5 separate regions of the Homo sapiens genome follow, and all the other regions are linked to region 4. The links are contacts of gene promoters, found by promoter capture Hi-C in blood cells and fetal thymus (Javierre and others, 2016). All regions are on one chromosome and are shown on one strand. The core of a region is centred on a gene start or on the middle of the fragment in contact, and the rest is flanking DNA. Distances in the headings are between cores, read along the strand shown. Region 1 overlaps KLHL15 (kelch like family member 15). Region 2 overlaps CXorf58 (chromosome X open reading frame 58). Region 3 has its middle 43 kb from the start of CXorf58. Region 4 holds the start of ZFX-AS1 (ZFX antisense RNA 1). Region 5 overlaps CXorf58 (chromosome X open reading frame 58).

Evidence for each region. Contacts are between HindIII fragments. The CHiCAGO score rates a contact against its expected background, and 5 or more counts as called.
Region 1: a contact is called between a fragment that was not itself captured here and the fragment with the promoter of ZFX-AS1 in region 4, in 2 of 17 cell types (total B cells and naive CD8 T cells). The highest score is 6.1, in total B cells.
Region 2: a contact is called between a fragment that was not itself captured here and the fragment with the promoter of ZFX-AS1 in region 4, in 14 of 17 cell types (total CD4 T cells, total B cells, naive CD8 T cells and 11 more). The highest score is 13.5, in total CD4 T cells.
Region 3: a fragment that was not itself captured here is called in contact with the fragment with the promoter of ZFX-AS1 in region 4 in 2 of 17 cell types (naive CD8 T cells and activated CD4 T cells); the score reaches 6.4 in naive CD8 T cells.
Region 5: a contact is called between a fragment that was not itself captured here and the fragment with the promoter of ZFX-AS1 in region 4, in 7 of 17 cell types (naive CD8 T cells, activated CD4 T cells, fetal thymus and 4 more). The highest score is 10.8, in naive CD8 T cells.

The regions. Positions count from the first base shown.
Region 1 is chrX:23,985,665-23,990,255 of GRCh38, forward strand. It overlaps KLHL15 (kelch like family member 15), which reads right to left. Exons shown (of 4, transcript NM_030624.3): 4 at 1-3,366. The coding sequence ends at 2,257. Among named protein-coding and RNA genes, the nearest start is that of KLHL15, 39 kb to the right of the region's middle. The HindIII fragment of the contact is 912 bases long and covers 2,603-3,514 here.
Region 2 is chrX:23,910,687-23,915,132 of GRCh38, forward strand. CXorf58 (chromosome X open reading frame 58) reads left to right here. Exons shown (of 9, transcript NM_152761.3): 3 at 1,071-1,170. Among named protein-coding and RNA genes, the nearest start is that of CXorf58, 4.9 kb to the left of the region's middle. The HindIII fragment of the contact is 3,954 bases long and covers 746-4,446 here.
Region 3 is chrX:23,948,091-23,953,046 of GRCh38, forward strand. No RefSeq gene overlaps it. Among named protein-coding and RNA genes, the nearest start is that of CXorf58, 43 kb to the left of the region's middle. RefSeq lists an enhancer at 4,503-4,956. The HindIII fragment of the contact is 8,514 bases long and covers 1-4,956 here.
Region 4 is chrX:24,146,902-24,151,407 of GRCh38, forward strand. It overlaps ZFX-AS1 (ZFX antisense RNA 1), which reads right to left and starts at 2,753. Exons shown (of 3, transcript NR_046657.1): 1 at 2,654-2,753; 2 at 1,852-1,941. It overlaps ZFX (zinc finger protein X-linked), which reads left to right and starts at 2,828. Exons shown (of 10, transcript NM_003410.4): 1 at 2,828-2,893. RefSeq lists enhancers at 2,165-2,264, 2,471-3,284 and silencers at 2,375-2,734, 2,795-3,204, 3,225-3,274, 3,325-3,834. The HindIII fragment of the contact is 5,789 bases long and covers 1-4,506 here.
Region 5 is chrX:23,928,647-23,933,570 of GRCh38, forward strand. All of the region lies in intron 6 of CXorf58 (chromosome X open reading frame 58), which reads left to right. Among named protein-coding and RNA genes, the nearest start is that of CXorf58, 23 kb to the left of the region's middle. The HindIII fragment of the contact is 463 bases long and covers 3,173-3,635 here.

The DNA.
Region 1 (4,591 bases), core at 1,809-4,308, 160 kb before region 4:
TCAAATGTTTGCCCAGATGTCACCCTGACTAGGGTCATGAAGTCATATCTAAGCAATTAAAGAGAACCACCACTATAGTGTAAAGGCTTTGATGTGGATACCTGGCCTGATGGCTCTTTCTTGGTCTTTTCTAGCAAAAGACATCAATGAGGAAAATAATGAAGACGTTATTTTCTTTAAAGCAAAATAGCACACATACAAAGCCACTAAACTAATGTAGAAAAAAATTAAATGGCTAACTTATTCCTAACTTTCAAAAATAAAATAATGTATTTTTTAAATGTAGAAAAAGACTTTTACCCATATTACCATGGGAAACAAGATACCAAATTTCATGTTTGGAAACTGTAAGTAAATGACAGGACTAGTTAATGAAAATATAAGTCTCATATATAAAATAAGATTATTATTGATTTTTGAAATCAATGCCAATGGTTTTTTCAAAAGCTACTTATGTACCTGGTTTCTTAAACCCAAATGCCTCCAATTCTGGAGTTTGAAGATCAGGTTTAATCTCATAGTATGTCTAATAACTGCCCAAAAAACCCCCAAAAACCAAAGTCTTCACATTTCCATGACTTCACACTTCCATTTTATGTTCAATGGTGGCAGCAGCAAAAAAACAAACAAACAAACAAAAAAACAAAAAACACCAAACAAAGTGAAACTAGAAAATTTATACATCAGCAGCCATATAGAAGGCATTGCAATATTGCACCAATATTCTAAGATCTGGCAAGTTTTGCCAGTATAGATCTAGTCTGTATCAGATATAGACTACTCATGCGCAAATGGCATCAATTTCAATGATCCACTCCCAGGTTATTCTTGCTTAACTTTGTCAACTATGTTTTTTCCTCTGCATTTAAAGAGTTGAAAGGTGCAGCTAATCCTAAAACACTTATTATAAATGCTTTTAAACAGCTATTCTTGATCCATTCTGAACTTTGTGGTTACTATCCTTCATGCTAATAGCTTTCAGTAAATAAAACAAAAACTGAGGGCTTACATCCCTAGTGTCGCTGGGTATTTTGTACAAAATAAACAAGTAGATAAAACCAGTAACATTATAATTCTATTTCTTACCTCTAAGTCAAAACTGAGGTCAAATTTTCTAAGAGTTTCTACCTTCCATTCAATAACAAATGCAGCAGCCTTACTGAATGTAAAAAATGGGAGTTGCACTTACTTTTAAGGGGCCTTGATTTAGGAGTCTGGTATTACCTAAATGCTCTTTAAAAGTGCTTGCATGCTGCAGGGCCAGAACTTGTCATATACCACTCCGATTCTCACTAAAAACAGGGTAACGTTAAACAGACTGCAAAGAAAAACATTTTCAAAAAGAAAAGACATACATCGACAAAGAACACTAACATTTACTTTTGAAAATAAAATATAAAGTGTTAGTTTTCATAACCATACATGTTTCAGAAATATAAGGAGTTCAAATATTACTGAATCAGTATGGACTGAAGATAGGCTACTTTGATAGCAAATGAGGACTCCAGTTATTTCAACTTTCTAAAAATGTTAATATGTGAAAAGACGTTACATCTAAAATTCAACAAGTATGGCGAACTGTGTGTGCAAGTAAGTGCACTAGCTTAAAAATATAGAATCCTAACCACGCATAAAAGGGATGTGCCTTGTGTATTTATAGGTTGTATGCGAGTATGAATATGCTTTCACTAACACAATGCGGATAAGAGAAGGCAGCTTAGAAATAGTGTTTTGAATATAAAAAGTTAATTTTGTAGAAAATTTATATTTTTGCATTTTCAGCAAAAAGCCATGCAAAAAGGTCAAGAGTTTTAAACTTTTAAATAATAAAACTAAAAAGTATAACAGACTGAAATACACTGAAATAAATCTTCAAAAAGGTTTCAGATAGAGACAGAGACTGAAATCACATCCAGTGACACTTATCGGGTCTTCTCTTAGAAGACACATGACTCCTACGCTAACATCTGAAAGAAATGTTTAAAGCAGAAAATCAATATCCCAGATAAGTGGAGCATTCTATTCAACTGCTTCTGGAAGTAGTTTCAAGAGCTAGCACTTAGAATTAACTTATTGCATGAGTTTGAGGCCACTGAAAAGAAAAAAAGGATGCTAGCACAGAATGAAAAATTCTTACAATGTTAGACCAATGGCTTTGATAGTAAAACTGGTGAGGTTTTTCTTTATATGTTTTAATTAATTACTCTGTGCAAACAAATACTTTGTTTGCCTCTTTTTTTAGGGAGGAGGATGTCATTAGTTGCAACGCCTGACCTCATCCAGTACATAGTCCGGAAAATGCAGGTTGCATACTTGTAAACCATCCAGCTTGCAGGGCATCCGAGGGTACTCATCTTCCTTCCACTTGTTTTCATCCGGATCAAAAGTGAGGATGGAATCGCTGTAATGACCATTATAACAAAGGCCTCCAAGAACCATTATTTGTTTGTCCAGCACAGTCACACCATGGCCACTTCTACCAATCGGCATGGATGCCAAGATGGTCCACTGATCAGTCTCTGGGTTGTATACTTCTGTAGAAGGGCATCCCTGAGATTCGAAAGAGGCCCTCAAGATCACACAGACACCACCGAAGACATAAAGCTTGCCATTGTAAGAAATCATCTTGTGAAAGCATCTCGCGTAATTCATCTTGCTCTTATTCTCCCAACAGTTGGTAACCACTTGAGTTCTCCTGGTCCGTTGTTCTATGGTCCCTTCTTTGCTGGGGTCAAACACGCACACTTGCTTGGAGGTGGAAGATGAGGTGATTCCACCGGTGATAAACAATTTGTTATTGAGCACTGTCCCCTCATGTCCATATTTGTTAACTGGATAAGGATCCACAAATTCCCATTTATCGTTGGTGATGTCATATCTCTCAGTTGAATAGAAAGTCTCATCTCTGGTTCTGCCTGCTACGGCGTAAATAAACTTCCCAATAACACCTACAGCAAATTCAGAGCGTGGTACAGACATATCTGCCATCTGCAGCCAGGAGTTCTGTCTCGGGTCATACCTGAATACTTTGGAAGAAGCATGGAATTCACCATCCGGGCCCAGCTCTTCCCCGCCTAACAGGAACACAAAATTATTGACGATAGCAAGGCAGTCAGGTCGCAGAGGTACTTGTGGGCCTTCTAGCTCCCACCAGACTCTTGGTTTCTTTAAGAGAAGTATTTTACTGTTAACCATGCTATGTCCAATCATTCCTCGAAATACTGTAGTTTGCGGTTTTGCAGAACGGATGCGGCTTGACTTCATATCCAACAAAGGCTGCTGGTGAACATTCTGAAAGTAATTCAATGCTTGGTCAACTTCGTAACGGAGCTGTCGGGAGTATCTATAAAATTCTGATGTCTTAACCTAAGAACACAAGAAAAAGAATTTAACCAAAGGAAAAAGCATCAGCTGCAAACAAATTATCAAAGCTGACTAATACGATCATCTTAGGCTCACTTTACTAAAACTGCTTTTCCTGCTAAGATCACCTACTTTCTTTTGTTTTCTACAAAGCTTTTAAAAAATCTTTTTTTTTTTTTTGGAGATGGAGTCTCACTCTGTTGCCCAGGCTGGAGTGCAGTTGCATGGACTCAGCTCACCGCAAGCTCCGCCTCCCAGGTTCAAGCACTTCTCTGCCTCAGCCTCCTGAGGCGCCTGCCACCACGCGCCCAGCTAATTTTTTTATTTTTAGTAGAGATGAGGTTTCATCATCTTGACCAGGCTGGTCTTGAACTCCTGACCTTGTGATCCACCCGCCTCAGCCTCCCAAAGTGCTGGGATTACAGGCGTGAGCCACTGCACTGGGCCTCCTATGTTTTCTTAATTTATAATGATCTATGTACATTCCCAAGCTTTTAAGAGTAAACAAATAATTAGGCACCTATTATGTGAAGCCCTGGGCTACAAGTAGCGGGTATGAGGACAAGTACAGGGCTTCACAGTAGAGGAAACCATATCCACAGTTTTCTTAACCACAAGTAACATCATAAAGCTGTGACTGAATCATTTGGGGAGTTAAGTTAGTGAAAATTTAAATACATGTAAAATTTCGGGGTTTTGACATAAAGACTTGGTCTGATAACTCCTGTAAGAATTCAGTAGATATCAGGTCAAACTTTTTCCTTTAATTTTTAAAATTTTATTTTAAAATTATTATTACTATATATTTTTAGAGATGGGGTCTTGCTCTGTTGCCCAGGCTGGTCTTGAACTCCTGGCCTCAAGCGATCCTCCTGCCTCAGCCTCCTGAGCTGCTGGGATGACAGGTGTGAGTCACTGCGCCTGGCAAACATTTTCCTTTTTGCTTCTGGAGCTGGAGCTACCTAATTATGATGACTACCAAGATTTATATAAAGCATTTTTGGCCAGGTGCAGTGGCTCATGCCTGTTGTCCAAGCACTTAGGGAGGCCAAGGTGGGAGGATCACTTGAGACCAGCCTGGGCAAACAAAGCAAGACCTCATCTCTACAAAATTAATAAAATAAAATAAAAATAAAGCACTTTTAAGTATTGTCCTAAGTGCTATAGGGAGAAACAAAAATAAGCGTAAGATGTGATCCGTTTCCTTAAAGAACCTAGAATGTATTTG
Region 2 (4,446 bases), core at 1,473-3,972, 240 kb before region 4:
GAAAGTTATCAGCTAATAAATGGCATCAGATAGGATTCAAAGGTTTGTTTCCACACTTCAGGCTTTTTCCTTTCTTTTTTTTTTTTTTTTTTTTTTTCAGACAGAGTCTCACTCTGCCACCCAGGCTGGAGTGCAGTGGTGCGATCTCGGCTCACTGCAACCTCTGTCTCCTGGGTTCAAGCGATTCTCCTGCCTCAGCCTTCCGAGTAGCTGGGATTACAGGCATGCACCACCACGCCTGGCTAATTTTTATATTTTCAGTAGAGACGGGGTTTCACCATATTGGCCAGGCTGGTCTCGATCTCCTGGCCTCAGGTGATCCCACCCGCCTCGGCCTCCCAAACTGCTGGAATTACAGGCGTGAGTCACTGTGTCTGGCCTAGCCTTTTCTTCTTTATATCTTGTAGCCTGCATTTTGCCAGCCAATGGGTAGCATTATGCAGGAGTACCTGTCTTTGTACATAGCGCTGTAAGGGGTAATGATGGGGTGAGAAGGTATGAAGGAGGAGACCCCTACAATCTGCCAGTGCTGGGATATGATCAAAAGTAGAATAATTCCGACTTGACCTGGATGAGCCTGGTTCAAGCAAAGATCAGAGAAGGAAGTTTCTTTTTCTAGGGCATAGTCATCCACCCCCAGAAGAGAACTGGGCCTCCTGTAACTTTGACTATTCCCCATTCCATTTTCATAGCACTTGAACTAGTTGGACGTTTCATTTTAGGTCGTGAATGTTTTTGGGAAGTAAGCTTGTCTCCTCATACTTTTTATTTATAATATACATGCCTCTTAATGATATATTTATATTTTATATGCCTTTTGATGACAAAGTTTTGGCCAGGACTTTTTTTTTTAATCTCAAGGGAAATCTCCTCAAGTATTTCATATCCTCATTCTGAGTAGATTCTGCAAATGACCACTTCCAATTACCACATCCAAATGTTCCTCATTAGGTCAGTCTTAGAGTGGGGGATGGGGAGGTACAGGAGGAGGAAGCATAAATTGATAGTTCTCTAAGGTTTTAGGAAAATGAAAACTACTTTATAAATATTAACCTCTTTTTTTCTCTCAGAATGCTTAAAGACATTTCAGCTCAAATAATACAGAGGGCTTGGTTATCTCATACAAACAAAATGATATTTCGACTCCTAAAACACGCAATTTGTGCAGCGGTATGTATTTTGCTTATTTTTTTCTCTGAGGGATTTAATTATCAAGCTAAAAGATCTATTAATTAAAGATCGAATAGATAACCTTCTTTATCTCCTCTTTTTTTTTTTTTTTTGAGAGGGAGTCTGGCTCTTTCACCCAGGCTGGAGTGCAGTGGCACAATCTTGGCTCACTGCAACCTCTGCCTCCCAGGTTCAAGCGATTCTTCTGCTTCAGCCTCCCAAGTAGCTGGGACTACAGGCACCTGTCACCATGCCTGGCTAATGTTTTGTATTTTTAGTAGCGATGGGGTTTCACCATGTTAGCCAGGATGATCTCGATCTCCTGACCTCGTGATCTGCCTGCCTTGGCCTCCCAAAGTGCTGGGATTACAGGCGTGAGCCACCACGCCCGGCCCTTTCTTTATCTCTTCTATTTGGATCTAATAATATCACGTGGAGTTCTGGAATTGTTTCTTCTGTTAGCCCTAGATGAGTATTTCTGGATTTTTTAAAATGTGGATGACTATTACTTTTTTCTGAAATTAATATACTGCTTGCCTTGTTTTGTTTTTAAATTTGATTCCTTATTTGAAAATGTGAGACAGTTCTCTTCCAACAATAAAAAGCTCCGAATCTGCAAGGTGCAGCATCTCACGCCTGTAATCCCAGCACTTTGGGAGGCCAAGGCAGGGAGGGCCAGGAGTTCGAGACCAGTTTGGCCAACATTGAGAAACCCTGTCTCTACTAAAATACAAAAAAATAGCCAGGCGTGGTGGCATGAGCCTGTAGTCACAGCTACTTGGGAGGCTGAGGCAGGAGAATTGCTTGAACCCAGGAGGTGGAGGTTATGGTGAGCGGAGATTGCGCCACTACATTCCAGCCTGGGCGACAGTGAGACTCTGTCCCCCTTCAAAAAGCTCTGAATTAAAAGTTCCCTTACCTTTTATCCAGCAATTTTACTTCTAAGAATCTGTTCTACAATACATACACAATTTGATTGCACCGTTGTTTGTAACAGCAAAGGGAGTAAACTGTATAATATCTATTGATATGATGCTGGTTAAATAAGTGTTGCTGCTTTTATAGTGTTAAACTTTGCAGCTTTAACATGATTCTGCAATAGAAAGGAAATGAAGATAGCTCATCAGTTAAAAAAGCAAGCACCAGACAGTATGAAGAGCATGATCCTACTTGAGTGAAAACCAAAACCAAAAAAAAAAGGTGCATATCCCCCCTCCTCCAGAAAGCAACTCTGGCAACCCTAGCAGAGCCTTCCTTGGCATAGTACCAAATATTCTAATAAAACAACCTATAAATCCAGTAGTCTATTATTAGTGATACTCTTTTTTTTCTTTTCTTTTTTGAGATGAAGTCTCACTCTGTTGCCCAGGCTGGAGTGCAGTGGCATGATCTTGGCTCACTGCAACCTCCACCACCCAGGTTCAAGTGATTATCCTGCCTCCGCCTCCCTAGTAGCTGGGACTACAGGTGCGTGCCGCCATGCCCAGCTAATTTTTTTTTTTTTGTACTTTTAGTAGAGACAGGGTTTCACCATGTTAGCCAGGCTGGTCTCAAACTCCTGACCTCAGGTGATCCACCCTCCTTGGCCTCCCAAAGTGCTGGGATTACAGGCGTGAGCCACCACACCCGGCCAATTAGTGATACTCTTAAGGGAATTTTAGCAGCTCTGAAAAAAATAATAAAGTCTGAGCAATGTATACACCGTTCACCATCTGACCCACAGACCTATTTCTGATGTCAGTAAAAGCAGAATACGGCTGGGCACAGTGGCTCACACCTGTAATCCCAGCGTGAGCTGGGATCTTTAGGAGGCCGAGGCGGGTGGATTGCCTGAGGTCAGGAGTTCGAGACCAGTCCGGTCAACATGGTGAAACCCCGTCTCTACTAAAAATACAAAAAAATTAGCCGGGCATGGTGGTGTGCGCCTGTAATCCCAGCTACCTTGAACCGGGGAGGTGGAGGTTATAGTGAGCCGAGTTTGAGCCACTGCACTCCAGCCTGGGCGACAGAGCAAGACTCCGTCTGAATACTTCAGAGAAAACCCACCCAGGTAAACTCCTGGCATTTCAGGTCTATTATCCATTGTCTTTGAATATGGAACTTGTATTTAATTTTATAATGCTGGTTTCATAGTATTTTTAGACTTTTGTAACAGAAGGAAATTCTTTTTTATCTGTTATAGTAATACTTTAATACCTTAAATTAATAATGCTTTGTCCTTTTAAAAGCTATTTATTTATTTATTTTGAGACAGAGTCTTGCTCTGTCACCCAGGCTGGAGTGCAGTGGCACGATCTCGGCTCACTGCAACCTCTGCCTCCCGGGTTCAAGCGATTCTCCTGCTTCAGCCTCCCAAATAGCTTGGACTACAGGCGCCTGCCATCACGCCTGGCTAATTTTTGTATTTTTAGTAGAGATGGGGTTTCACCATGTTGACCAGGTTGGTCTCGAACTCTTGACCTCAGGTGATCCTCCCGCTTTGGCCTCCCAAAGTGCCAGGATTATAGGCGTGAGCCGCAGTGCCCAGCCTAAAAGCTCTTTAGTGTACATTTTTATGTGATTATCATAGGCATAACGGGGTTGGTTGGGGTTGTTTGGGGGAAAGAGTTGGGACTTTAGAGTCAAACAGAACTAAATGAATCCTGGCTTCCCCATTCACTACCTGTATGCCTTTTTATAAATTACAAAAATTCCCTGAGCCTCAGCCTTCTCATCTGTAAAATAGGCGTGATAATATTCTCATAATGGGCCAGGTGCAGTGGCTCACGCCTGTAATCCCAGCACTTTGGGAGGCTGAGGCGGGTGGATCACCTGAAGTCGGGAGCTCGAGACCAGCCTGACCAACATGAAGAAACCCCATCTCTATTAAAAATACAAAATTAGCCAGGCATGGTGGCGCATGCCTGTAATTCCAGCTACTCAGGAGGCTGAGCAGGAGAATCACTTGAACCTGGGAGGTGGAGGTTGCGGTGAGCCGAGATCATGCCATTGCACTGCAGCCTGAGTGGTGGCTCACACCTGTAATCCCAGCACTTTGGGAGGCTGAGGCGTGCGGCTCACAAGGTCAGGAGTTCCAGGCCAGCCTGGCCAATATGGTGAAACCCCGTCTCTACTGAAAAAATACAAAATTAGCCGGGCGTGGTGGCAGGTGCCTGTAGTCCCAGCTACTCGGGAGGCTGAGGCAGGAGAATCGCTTGAACCTGGGAGGCGGAGGTTGCAGTGAGCCGAGATCATGCCACCGCACTCGAGCCTGGGCGACGGAGCGAGACTCTGTCT
Region 3 (4,956 bases), core at 1,345-3,844, 200 kb before region 4:
ATTGGAGCAGACCAGATGGTTCCAGAAGAGACTTTTTAGGTAGATGAACTCATAAACCTAGTATGTTTGAATATGAAAGATTTACCCGAGTGAGAGAAAGTCTGAGGATATGGACTTAGGAAACCAAACAAATGGGAAAAAATGAGAAAAAAAAAAAACCCAGAACAGTTATTAGCTTCAGAAAAAAACCAAAAAGTTGGAAAGGAAGAATAATCATAGTATATTACACATTTGAACAGTAAATAGCATTTTCCTTTACTGATCTAACTAAAATTAGAATATAACCATATGTGAAACCTGGAGGGATAGGAAATGTGTATGTGTGTAGCTGGGTAGGGAATGAGAGAGAATTTAATCCTTACGTCTCATAATGTAAAGTCAGTAAATGATGTCTGTCTTAGTCTGTTTAGGCTGCTATAACAGACTACCATAAACGGGGCAGTTTATAAACAACAGAAACTTCTCACAATTCTGGAGGCTGAGAAGTCCAAAATCAAGGCACTGGCAGATTCAGAGTCTGGTGAGGGCTTGCTTCCTGGCTCATAGGTGGCTGTCTTTTCCCATGACAGAAAAGGGCAAGTGGGGTCTCTTATGAGGGCACTAATCCCATTCATGAGAGTGCTACCCTAGTGACCTAAATCACTTTCCAAAGGCCCCATCTCTACCATCACACTGGAGGTTAGAATTTCAACATATGAATTGGGGTGGGGGTGGGAACACAATCATTCAGTCTATAGCCATGTCCAAAACTGAAAAATCAAGAAGTATCTAATTTTGAGAGATGGAGGTCAATACCAAAAGAATCAGATAAAATATTTGAAACTGTTGCCTCTGAGGATCAGAAAATGGAGAACTATTTGATTTTTAAAACTGCAAGTATGCATTTGATTTTAAAAACTAAATTTAAAAAACACAAGAAAGTCGGGGAATTGTTAGGATGAATACAAGAGCGTGCTAAAGTGGCTCATACTTAGCTTGCTGTTGTTAAATTTTTAACATTCATTGTTAAATTTTCAGGAATTTTGTGAGCTGGTTGGTAAGTATAGCCATTATTAAAAATTAAACTGTAGTCAGGCACAGTGGCTCATGCCTGTAATCCCAGTGCTTTGGGAGGCCGAGACAGGTGGATCACTTGAGCACAGGAGTTTGAGACCAGCCTGGGCAACATGGCAAAACTCCATCTCTACAAAAATTTTTTTTTAAATTAGCTGGGCATGGTGGCACATGCCTGTAGTCCCAGCTGCGTGGGAGGCTGAAGTCGGAGGATCGCTTGAGCCTGGGAGGCAGAGGCTGCAGTAAGCTGAGATCGTGCCACTGCACTCCAGCTTGAGTGACAGAGCCAGACACTGTCTCAAAAAGAAAAAAAAATGAATTGTATAAACTCGTAATTGTATAGTTTACTTAGGTAACCTGTATTAAAATCACAGGTAAAACTTCTCAAAAAGTATCGCTTCTAATTATTTTAATTATTATTTAAGGAGAATCATTCTAATGATTCTACATTTTACATTCTATGATATGAGTTCTTGATTCTATTTTTTTTTTGAGATGGAGTTTCGCTCTTGTTGCCCAGGCTGGAGTGCAATGGTGTGATCTCGCCTCACTGCAACCTCCCCCTCTCGGGTTCAAGCGATTCTCCTGCCTCAGCCTCCTGAAAAGCTAGGACTACAGGCACCCACCACCACGCCCGGCTAATTTTTGTATTTTTAGCAGAGACGGAGTTTCACTATATCGGCCAGGCTGGTCTCGAACTCCTGACCTTGTGATGTGCCTGCCTCGGCCTCCCAAAGTGCTGGAATTACAGGTGTGAGCCACTGTGCCCGGCCGATTCTATTTATATCTATTGTATCTGTATGGTGGAAATGCTGTAGAGTGATGTGCTACTAGACATCTCTTGCCAACTGTTGTGACGTCATGTTGGTAATTTGAAAACATATATATGTATATATTTCTTGTTGTGTATTAAACTTTTAAAAGTATAACACATCTATAGAAAATCATATAAAATGATTTTACAGTTGAATGCATTATTGTAAGGCAAGACACCTTAGTAACTACCATCCACGTCAGAAGAAAGAGTCATACCTGACCACCCCAGAAACCCTCTACCTGGCCCTGCACCTCGTCTCTTAAGAGTAACTATTCTCCTGGCTTTTATGGTAATCACCTCATTCTTTTATAGTTTCCTCACCTAAGCATGCACCCATACACAATGTAGTTTAATTTTGCCTCTTTTTTTATATGGTTTTTATTTCTTTTTAATCTGTAGGTTCCCTATCCACCTCTTTTTTTCTCCCCCATTACAATTTGTTAATTAAACTGGATCATTCATTCTGTAACATTTCCCATGATCTAGACTTTGCTGATTGAATTCCTTGGTGTAGCTAACACGTAACTCTGTCCTCTGTATTTCCTGTAAATTGGATCTAGAGAATCATTCTTTTCTTCTTCTTCCTTTTTTTTTTTTTTTTTTGAGACAAGTTCTCACTCTGTCGCCCAGGCTGGAGTGCAGTGGCATGATCTCGGCTCACTGCAACCTCCACCTCTCAGGCTCAAGCAATCCTCCCACCTCAGCCTCCCGAGTAGCTGGAACTACAGGCTGTGCCACCATGCCCGGCTGATGTTTGTATTTTTCGTAGAGGCAGGGTTTCACCATGTTGCCCAGGCTGGTCTTGAACTCCTGAGCTCAAGCGATCGGGCCACCTCAGCCTCCCAAGGTATTGGGATTATAGGTGTGAGCCACTGTGTCTGGCCTTAAGAGACTAATTCTTTATTATTAAAAACAGTGACAACAACAAAAATACCAATTCAGTAAATATATGTTGAATATCTACTACATGCCTGAATAGGATAAAAATATGAAGTAATTATTAAGGACATTTATCATTTTAGGCAACTTGACAGGATCTTCTCGGGGGACAAATTGTTACGGTTTACTCTATGCCATTAGCTTGGTCATCAACTCAGGAGATAGCTCAAAAAATGTGTGGGTGAAATACATATTAACTGACAAAGAGACTCCTCATAATAGCACAGAAATAGTGTAGCAGTGCCTTTCTGAAGAAATTATTAACTGCATAACCACTTGTATACAAAAGGTTGTCTATTTTTCAAGGCTGGTTTTAACAATGGTGCATTGACCAAGCACCACTGACAATGATTACAAATTTTGTAGGAACAATTTGCAGGAATTCAGCAATCAAGGATTTTTAAAAAGAAGAGGAATAAATTTTACTACATATTTCTAAATTATCAGAACCTTAAGTTTAAAAAGGACACCGAAGGCTGGGTGCAGTGTCTCAAGCCTGTAATCCCAACACTTTGGGAGGCCGAGGCGGACGGATCACCTGAGGTCAGCGGATCGAGACCAGCCTCGCGAACATGGTGAAACCTTGTCTCTACTAAAAATACAAAAAAAAAAAAAAAAAAAAAAATTAGCCAGGCATGGTGGCGGGTGCTTGTAATCCCAGCTGCTTGGGAGGCTGAGGCAGGAAAATTGGTTGAACCCAGGAAGCAGAAGTTGCAGTGAGCCAAGATCGTGCCACAGCACTCCAGCCTGGGTGACAAGAGTGAGACTCTCTCAAAAAAAATAAAAATAAAATAAAATGAAAAGGACACAGAATAATAAGATTCTATAACCTGATACTCTCTATCACTTTTTCCTATGGTGGACCAATAACACAGTCTCCCTAACCAATGCTAATTATTTGTAGAATAATATTGACAACTTGAAGAAATGTTGATTTGCTTGAAAGCAAACATCAAGGCTTCCTTTTCATAAACAGTATTTGGCTAAAGTATTTTAAGTGTGGCTTAAGTTACAATTGTTTTGTAGCTTATTTTCATAATGTACTGGTGAATGTATATACTGTTTATACAATTAATGAAGTTTTAGAAACATGAAAACTTACTTCACCTCTATTAAGTCTTTGTTTGTAAGTAAGGTGAGTTGCTCAGATTTCTGGACCAGGAAGATGTGAAAGAGTGAAGATCGTCCAAAGTCCAAAAATTTTCAACCCTGATCTATAAATTTACAGTATTATATTGGCTATGATTCATAGAAATCACATTAAGTTTAAAATATTCATGCATATTATTTTTTAAAGTTCTCCAAGAGTAAGTCATTTCCTTCTATATTTTTGGAAAAGTGAATATTCATTTCTCCCTGGTAATATTAAATTATGACAATCTTTAGCATTCAAATTAACCTGTCAAATTATATTCTTCAAAATTCTCCAACATTTGCAGAGCTATGAGAAACTTCTAAAAGGGAAAAATATCAAGATATGGTGGTTATGGACCAGAGTGAAAAAAATAAATACCAAAAATTATACAGTTCCATCATAGGCTATTAAGAAAGAATCAAATACAACCTAAGCATATTTTGGATCAATAATTATTACAGATTTCTATGAATAAAACACCTCCAGTGTTAAAAGACGTTGGATTAGCATTTCCGGAAATCTATGACTAATGCCATTATACTATCTGTCCCAGGGATTTTATTATTACATCATCTCTTGAGAAACTTTAAATATTAATCCATAGGTTATTCTCAGCATGCAACCCATTACCTTTTTTTCTCATTGAGGGTACCTTCTCATTTAGCACAAATAAATTAATGTAATTCTTTTAACATGCTAAAATAAATAGAATAAAATGACGATATTTAAGTTTGCATGAATTTAAAGTGGATAGAAATACTCTATGCAAAGACTGTACCTTGCCACTCTCCTTTTGTCTTCACAGATTATTTCTGAAGGCACAACCTCAAAGGAATATTTTTGAGAAACACACCCCCAGAAATATTCTATAATTTAAGTAATCTTGAAATAAATCACAACATTCACATTTTCCTGCTAAAATCATAGAAATCCTCCTTCGGAAGATAATTTCTCTCATGTGTTAAGGTAATTCTCCTACCCTGCTGTGACACATACTGTGTGTAAGTGGGCT
Region 4 (4,506 bases), core at 1,503-4,002:
CTTAGGTGTCCTCAAGGTCCTATTGTGAGTACTTTCATAAAATGCATTTTGTATTTTGTCACATCAAACAATTTCTGATCTCTGCTGTTTACACTTCCTTTTCATCTTCACTTTATCATGAGTATAATACTAAGTGTACTTCTAGTGAAATGATTTTTACCATTGTTCTTTTACCAGTTAAACAATGTTCTTTACAGACTTCCATAAATGGGCTTAAAGTACAACTTTACCTTTTTTTAACTAAAAAAAATATAGTTGACCTTATCTGTATAGTCATCTATAAAATAACTGGACTTTATAAAGTTTGCTGGACTTTAATAAAGGTTTATCTAATCTAATAGAACTAGGCCATCCTTTCTTTGTTTCCCACCAAAGTTAACAGTCTCTTCCTGTATGAAAAGTAATGACAAAGGGCTCTTTGAAAGTATCAATCCCTAAACTACTTGTGATCTTTTAAACTGAGAAAACTTCTTTTTCTTTCATGCTCCTTGGACACTGTTTTCTTAAGTGCTTTACACTGGTGGATGTATAAGTATTTTTGATGGTAATTATGGAAAAACTAACAAGAATGGTGACATTAGGTTTTTCTGTCTTGAACATGCTGCTTACAGTTGCATGGATGAAGTGAGGCTCTATTCTTCTTCTTTTTTTTTTTTTTTAATAGAGACGAGGTCTCACCATGTTACCCAGGCTAGTCTTGAACTCCTGGGCTCAAGTGATCCTCTCGCCTCGGCCTCCCAAAGTGCTGTGATTACAGGACTGAACCAGGGAACCTGGCCTCCATTCTTGCCATACCGTAGCATCACACTGAGGCCCTTGGAAAGTACTTAAACGCTGATTATCAATGTTTTGAAATATTAATGTGGGCGGCCGGGCACGGTGGCTCACGCCTGTAATCCCAGCACTTTGGGAGGCCGAGGCGGGTGGATTACCTGAGGTCAGGAGTTGGAGACCAGCCTGGCCAACATGGTGAAACCCCATCTCTACTAAAAAAATAGAAAAATTAGCCAGGCGTGGTGGCAAGTGCCTGTAATCCCAGCTACTCGGGAGGCTGAGGCAGGAGAATCGCTTGAACCCCGAAGGCAGAGGTTCAGTGAGCCAAGATCACGCCATTGCACTCCAGTCTGGGAGTGCAAGAAATATTAATGTGGGCACACAAGCTATTTCTCATTTTTTTTTATTGAAACAACATTGCTTAGTTTCATTTACCTTTCTGTGAAATGTCTTTCTGTGAAAGTCTATCACAGCCTGATGTAATTTTTATAAACAATGAATACATGCTGTTACTATTTTTGAAAGGAAATTTAATCGCTTGGAAAAATTCAGACTAAAGCCCCGAGAGGAAAATTATCATCCAGTGCATGCTCAGAGATTTCTTCTTACTCTACTTTTGTTTTTCCTTTTTGAAAGCATTTGTGATTGAGAGATGTCTGAGGGAAGGGACAAATTGCATTCTGGGAGTTTTAAAGAGTTATGTCAGGCAACTAAAATACGTGGCCTCTGTATTTAAAGAGATTTCACACCAGTATACTATTTGCTTTATAATTTTTGTGTTTCTTATTGTTTAAAAATGCCTTTAACATTTAGTGCTGTGTTAAAGGATAGCATGCCAGATTCCAGATTAATGTAAAGACTCCACTATTTAACTTTTCCCTAGTAACTTTAAAACAGAGTTTGGGTTCCAAGTTCAGCATGGAAAGATAGCATAAACATTTAAACTAAGTAAAGTGCGAAATACACATTTTTGAAGTTGGTAAGTGCTGTTTAATCATTTTCCCCTTCTCTCCCAAGTCTTTTGAAACTTCAAAAGGCTTGTTTAAGCAGTGTGTTTAAAAAAAAAAAAATCCATACCCAATTGGGCTCCTCTCTATTAAGGAATGTGGAAAATTCATGATTTATGAAACGATGACACCAGTCTTACATTTCACAGGCTCCCAAGCTCTGAAACACGGGTACATAGGAAAATACACAGAAAATTCCTGTTCTTTGCAACGTGCGAAACGTTTCAAAATGCAACTTTGCTCATCTCCCTCCCCCGTACAAACTAATAAAATCAGTTTGGCTCTGACTGCTTATTTTTAAAAAGTAGACGGCCTGGTAGGTGCTCTAGGGATAACCCTTCTCCCCCCACTCCACCCCCCTTCCCGCACACCCATTTAGACTGGCAAGCCCGTTTTCATTTTATTTCAAAGATTTTTTTTTTTTAAGCGAAGGCAGGGGACGGCGGGGGTTGCTAAATTTATCTTCCTCCCCAGCCACGGGGATGAAGAAAACACATTTACTGCGGGCGGGGGTCTGAGGGCCTGCAAACAACTCGAGCTGGAGCCTCGGCCAGGACCGGCGCGAGAGGCGGTAGGTCTCCAGGGAGGCCCCCGGGGGGCGGCCGCGGCCCACGGGACATGGTGGGGGGCGGCCGGGCCGCCTGCCTCTCCGCGGGGTCGGCCGACCGCGGCCCCGCGCGGGCTTTACGGCCGAGGCGGCGGCGGCAGCGGCGCGTGTGTGGCGGCGGCGGGCGGGAGCGCGGAGGAGGTGGAAAGAAGGGGGGCGCTGTCACGGAGACTCCGGCCGCCGGAGACCCCGCCGCAGCGAGGCCACTGGGCTCCCCGGTCGCGGGGCGGGAGCGGCGCCGACACGGGGTGCCAGGAGGACCCACCGGGCGGAGGAGGGGGCCTGTCTACCCTTCCGCATTTTCCTGGGTCTCTCTCCCGGGCGGTGACGTGACGTGCTGACGGCGGGCCCGTGCCGGGGAGCTGGGCCGCTTTTTGTCAGCTCCGAGCTCGGCCCCTCCTCCCTCCCTCCGCCCGCCCCACCAGCCGGAGCCCGGCCCAGTGCTCCAGAGAAAGGCCGGCCTGCAGCACCCGCCACCGTCGCCGGCCGCCCGCACGTCCGTCCGGTGAGTCCCGGGTGCCGCCGCGGCCGCGGGGCCTAGTGCGCGCACAGCGGCCTGGTCTCGGCCTGGTCGGCGGCCCGCAAGGCGCCCTCCCGCGCTAGGCCGGGCGGCGTGGCGCGCGGCGCCGAGCAGGCCCCGAGGAGGCCGCAGTTAGGCCCGGGGAGGAGCCCGGCTGCCCCGAGCGGCGGCGGAGGCGCGCTCCGTAAGCGGGCGGGGGTTGGGGGAGGGTCGCCCGGTTGTGCCGGAGGCGGTCGAGGGGCCCCGGGTCGGCTCCGCGGCCGACCTGGGGCACCGCGCCGGGGTGAGGCCTGGCGAGGAGGCGAAGGCTGCAGGCGTGAGGTGAAGGCCGCAGGCCGGCCGGGCCGATTTTCGCTATGTAAATATCGGTGAGGGGGGGGGAGGGACGGGGGACAAGATGGCGGCGGCTCGGCGCCTGCTGCAGGGGACGATAGAGGGGGTTGCCGGGAGGGGGAGCCGCCATCTTGGAGGCGGTGTCTGGAGAGAAAATTCCGCTACAGCCCGTGAGGGGGGGTGGGAGAGCGGGCGGCGGCGGCAGCGGCGCCGGTGACGGGCCCCGGAGGCCCGGCGCGGCGGCGTGTGCGCGCGGAGGGGCGTGCTCGCTCCCCGTGGCGGCCATTGCCCTTGCCGCCATGATGAGCGCTCGGGCTCCAGGCGCTCGGCGGCAGCGCCACCTTCCTGCCTTGCCTCCCGCAGCCCCGTGACTGGCTGCAGTTTCCGCTGCGTTTCAGCTGAGCTGCCGCAGGCGGCCACCGCCGCCGCCCGGACGCCGGGACCGTTTCACCCTCAGCGCCCCTGGCCCTGCGCCTTCCCCCGCGCCTGTAGCCACCCGAGGGCAGTCGGGGCAGGTGGCATTCCGGACACCTGGGCTTACCAGGGCATACGGGACCCCAGGAAATGTTATTTTTGCTTAAGTCAAATCATATGTGGCTGCTAAGGTGCTTTCGATGCAGTTGTTTTTCCAACAATCTTTGCCGCCCCGAGTATCTGAATAAAGGAAGAAAAATAAAGATTGATGGGAAAGTTTTTGCCATTCTTTTGTCCTATAGGGAAAAAAATTGCACAACACGAGAGCGGAGGAATAAAATTTTGAATCATTCGTACTCATTTATGTGGAAACAACTTTCTTGAAAAACGATTTAAGTAGTGATCTGTTGGTGGTATTTTTTTAAATCGAGGAATAAGGGCAGACTTTTTTATTTTCTTATTGGAGGACAACTTAGTGTGGTGCATATTTATTGTGCATTTGCCTGTCATGGTATTTCGATTTTTCATTTGTGAAGTTTTAAGGCGGAGTTTCATCCCCTAACGTACTTTTTTGATTGCACACTGTGCAACTTTCTTGATAAACTCGGAGCCTACTGTTAGCGATGCACCGTGCTAGATGCTAAGAAACATTAAAAAGGTTCTTGTAATGCAGACGGTGGCTGCAAGAAGTCTCATGTTTAGAGGTAGGTGGGGCAAGGTGAAATGCAGTAAAGTGAGAGGTACAACTAATTACTGGGATTTCCGAGGGAAGCAAGGTTGCCATTGGAGGATCAGGGAGGGACGGGTTCCTGAAGTATTAATAGGTGGCATTTTGAGAAGGTTACCGAGGG
Region 5 (4,924 bases), core at 2,154-4,653, 220 kb before region 4:
GAACTGTGATCAGTGATCTTTGATGTTACTATTGTAATTGTTTTGGAGCACCACAAACTGAGCCCATATAAGATGGCAAACTTAACCAATAAATGTATGTGTTCTGACTGCTCCACCAACCAGCCATTCCATTATCTCTCTCTTTCCCCTCTGGTCTCTCTATTTTCTGAGACACAACAATATTGAAATTAGGCCAATTAATAATCCTACAGTGGCTTCTAAGTGTTCGAGTGAAAGAGTCATGCGCCTCTCACTTTAAATCAAAAGCTAGAAATGACGAAGCTTAGTGAGGAAGTCATGTCAAAAGCTGAGATAGGCCAAAAGCTAGACCTTTGCACCAAAGAGTTAAACGTGTTGTGAATGCAAAGGAAAAATTTATGAAGGAAATTAAAAGTGCTACTCCAGCGAACACACAAATGATAAGAAAGCAAAATAGCCTCATTGCTGATATGGAGAAAGTGTTAGTGGTCTGGATAGAAAATTAAACCAGCCACTCACGCCTGTAATCCCAGCACTTTGGGAGGCCGAGGTGGGCGGATCACGAGGTCAGGAGATCGAGACCATCCTGGCTAACATGGTGAAACCCCGTCTCTACTAAAAATACAAAAAATTAGCCGGGCATGGTGGCGGGCACCTATAGTCCCAGCTACTAGGGAGGCTGAGGCGGGAGAATGGCGTGAACCCAGGAGGCGGAGCTTGCAGTGAGCCGAAATTGCGCCACTGCACTCCAGTCTGGGCAATAGAGTGAGACTGTGTCTCAAAAAAAAAAAAAAAAAGAAAAAGAAAAAAAAAGAAAAACCAGCCACAATATTCCCTTAAACCAAAGCCTAATCCAGAGCAAGGCCTTAACTCTCTTCAATTCTATGAAGGATCAGAGAGGTGAGAAAGCTGCAGAAGAAACTTTGGAAGCTAGCAGAGGTTGGTTCGTGAAGTTTAGGGAAAGAAGCCGTCTTTATAACATAAAAGTGCAAGGTGAAGCAGCAAGTGCTGATGGAGAAGCTGCAGCAAGTTATCCAGAAGATCTCACTAAGATAATTGTTGAAGGTGGCTGCACTAAACAACAGATTTTCAATGTAGACAAAATGGCCTTATACTGTTAGAAGATGCCCTCTAGGGCTTTCACAGCTAGAGAGGAGAAGTCAATGCCTGGCTTCAAAGGACAGGCTGAGTCTCTTGTTAGGGGCTAATGCAGCTGGTAACTTTAACTTAAAGCCAGTTCTCATTTACCATTCTGAAAATTTTAGGGCCCTTAAAAATTATGCTAAATCTATCCGGGCGGAGTGGCTCAGGCCTGTAATCCCAGCACTTTGGGAGACCAAGGCAGGTGGATCACAAGGTCAGGAGATCGAGACCATCCTGGCTAACACCGTGAAACCCCGTCTCTACTAAAAAATACAAAAATTAGCCGGGCGTGGTGGTGGGCGCCTGTAGTCCCAGCTACTTGGGAGGCTGAGCCAGGAGAATGGCGTGAACCCAGGAGGCGGAGCTTGCAGTGAGCCGAGATTGCACCACTGCACTCCAGCCTGGGTGACAGGGCAAGACTCTGTCTCAAAAAAAAAAAAAAAAAAAAAGAAAAAAGAAATATGTTTCATAAGGCTATAGCTGCCATAGACAATGATTCCCCTGATGGATCTGGGTAAAGTAAAATTTAAAAATCCAGAAACGATTCACCATTCTAGATGCTATTGAGAACATTCATGAGCTGGGCACAGTGGCTCATGGCTGTAATCCCAGTACTTTGGGAGGCTGAGATTGGAGGATCTCTTGAAGATGGAGTTTGAGACCAGCCTGGGCAATATAGGGAGACCCTGTCTCTACAAAAATTACCCCCCACCCCAAAATTAGCCAGGTGTGATGGTATGCCCCTATGGTCCCAGCTACTCAGGAGACTGAGGTGGGAGGATTGCTTTAGCCATGATTGCACTCCAGCCTGGGCAACAGAGTGAGACCCTGTCTCAAAAAAAAAAAAAAAAGCCACAGCCACCCCAGTCTTCAGCAACCAGTACCCTGATCAGTCAGCAGTCATCCACATCAAGGTAAGACTCTCTACCAGCAAAAAGAATAGGACTCACTGAAGGCTCAGATGATCATTAGCATTTTTTAGCAATAAAGTATTTTTTTTCTTTTTGTGGAGATGGGATCTTGCTATGTTTCCTAGGCTGGTCTCGAACTTCTGGGCACAAGTGATCCTGTCAGCTCTTCCTCCGTAAGTTCTGGCATTGCAGGCATGAGCCATTATGCCCAGCCATAACAAAGTATTTTTAAATTAAAGTATGTACATTTTTTTTTAAATAATGCTGTTGCACACTTAAACTACAGTATAATGTAAACATAACTTTTATATGCACTGGGAAACCAAAAATTAGCATGACTCTATTTGTGATATCCACTTTATTACCATGGTCTGCAACTAGACCCACAATATCTCTGAGATATGTCTGTATACAGCCTTAACTATTCACTCATTTGCTTCAGTGTGAAACATGAAATTAATGCAGTGCCTTAGAGACTCCCAATTATGTTTTCTTTCTTTTAGAGTCTTAGACTGTGAGTTTAGGGAAGTGAACCAGGAAATGCCAACTATCTTTGCTAAGGACAAAGACCACATACTTTCAGATTGTGAACATGTCAAGGATTAATGTCATAGAGAGGAGTCCCCAGATAGACATACTGGAAGAGAGAGATAAGATCATTGTTGACGTTTGAGTCCTTATACGGGTGTGGCACTGTCTTTAGCACTTTACATGTGTGTTATCTTCTTTCATCTTCAAGTTTGTAAATTCTGTGACCTTTTTTACAAATGAGAAAAATGAAGTTTAACAAGCCTCAAAAAAACTTGCCTGAGGTCACAGACAGATCTGATAAGTGGCAGAGCAGATGATTGACAGATCTATGATATTTACCCATTTTACTACTTCACTCAGGAAAAAAAATACCCAGCCTTACTTTGCATGGCAGTGCAGGACCATAAAAATGACCAGCAAATTGAAACCATGCAAAGCAAACTTAATAATTTGTGGGGAAAATTGTGATTGTCCTGTGACTTTTCAAACTTTTTGTCTGTAGTCCCAGCTACTTGGGAGGCTGAGGCAAGAGGATCACTTAAGCCCAGGAGTTTGAGGGTAGCCCAGGCAACATAGTGAGACCCCATCTCTGAAAACAAAACAAAACAAGCTTCTTTGTCAAAACATTAAAAACTCTTTTGCTGTCTGTTATAAATACATAGGAAAATGAAAGAAAAAAACCCAACACATTTAGAACACTTTTAGTACACTATAATTTAAAACATTAGAAACATAGACAAAGTGTTTAGTTTCTTCATAAAATATCTTACCAACTGTGAATATACTGGAAACTATTGAATTGTACACTTTAAATGGTGAATTGTATGGTATGTGAACCTCAATAAAGCTGTGAAAAAATAACTTACCAAGAGTACTTTAAACAGTGCTTGCCTTCTTGTTCTTCTAGTATAACTTATAAGCATCTTTTCTATGTCTTGATGTATTGTCATATTCCTTTTAAAATTTGGATCAGCTGCCAACATTTTATTCTTTGCACTTTAAATGTTGCAAAATATCTCAGAGTTCCTTCAGTATGAAGTTTTTTTTGGCCAGCATCACTTCCACTGGGAAAGCTTCATCTTTTTATCATAGCCACTTTCCTCATTTATGTTGATAAGTTCATCCTCACCAAGTTCCTCTAGCTGTAGATCTGCAACGTCTTGAATGATGGCAGTGTTAGCATTCCCACAGTCACCTGTTTCTTCTAGAACTCCATGTATGATTGATTCCAATTTCACTTCAAGGGGTACCACTTTTTGTTTCTTTGACGGGGAATTCCCTCTTTTGATTTTCCATTTTTGTAAAATGTCACATGGGTTTATCATTGGGAGACAAAAATGCAACACAACTATATACGTTGCTGTTTGTGTGTGAAATGAATAACAGATTCACAGTGACCAGTCACTGATTGACTTTGGAAGGTATGACATGATTTGTCACTAATCATGATGATCATCTGTCATTTATATTGTGATCTTTGAGCTGAAGAGCTAGCAACAGGAGGCCGGGCGTGGTGGCTCATGCCTGTAATCCCAGCACTTTGGGAGGCCAAGGTGGGTGGATCACTTGAGGTCAGGAGTTCGAGACCAGCCTGGCCAACATGATGAAACCCTGTCTCTACTAAAAATACAAAAATTAGCCGGGCCTGGTGGCACACGCCTATAATCCCAGCTACTTGGGAGGCTGAGGCAGGAGAATCGCTTGAACCCAGGAGGTGGAGGTTGCAGTGAGCCGAGATTGCGCCGCTGCACTCCAGCCTGGGCGATAAAGCAAGACTCCATCTCAAAAAAAAAAGTTTGAAAAGGCCGGGTGCAGTGGCTCATGTCTGTAATCCTAACACTTGGTGAGGCAGAGGCCGGAGGATTGCTTGAGCCCAGGAGTTTGAGACCTGCCTGGGCAACACAGCGAGACCCCATTCTCCAGAAAAGGAAAAAAAAAAAGATGAAATGGTGCAAAGGTAGGATTGCCTGTGTGTGTGTATGTGTGTGAGTGTGTATGTGTATATGTGAGTGTGAAGGTGTGTGTTGAGAGTGTGTATGTGCATCTGTGTGTGTGTGTTTGAAAGCATGAATGTGACTGTGTAATATACCCTAAAGGCCTTCTTGTTATTCTGTTTCCTAGCACTGTAGCTCCTCCTGCCCTATCCCTGGCTCTTAAATGCACGACTATAATGTTAAAGTGATGATATATATTTGTATTTTTAATTCCTAATTTGATATCATTTTAAATTGGAAAAAAAGAAAAGTGGGATTTCTACAAATACTCCAAAGGAAAATAGTGAAAATCTCCACTTCATACTAGAGATGAACTCATATTTCTAAAAAGGTTTGTGCAAAAGTCCTCTCAACAGCCTGGGCAAC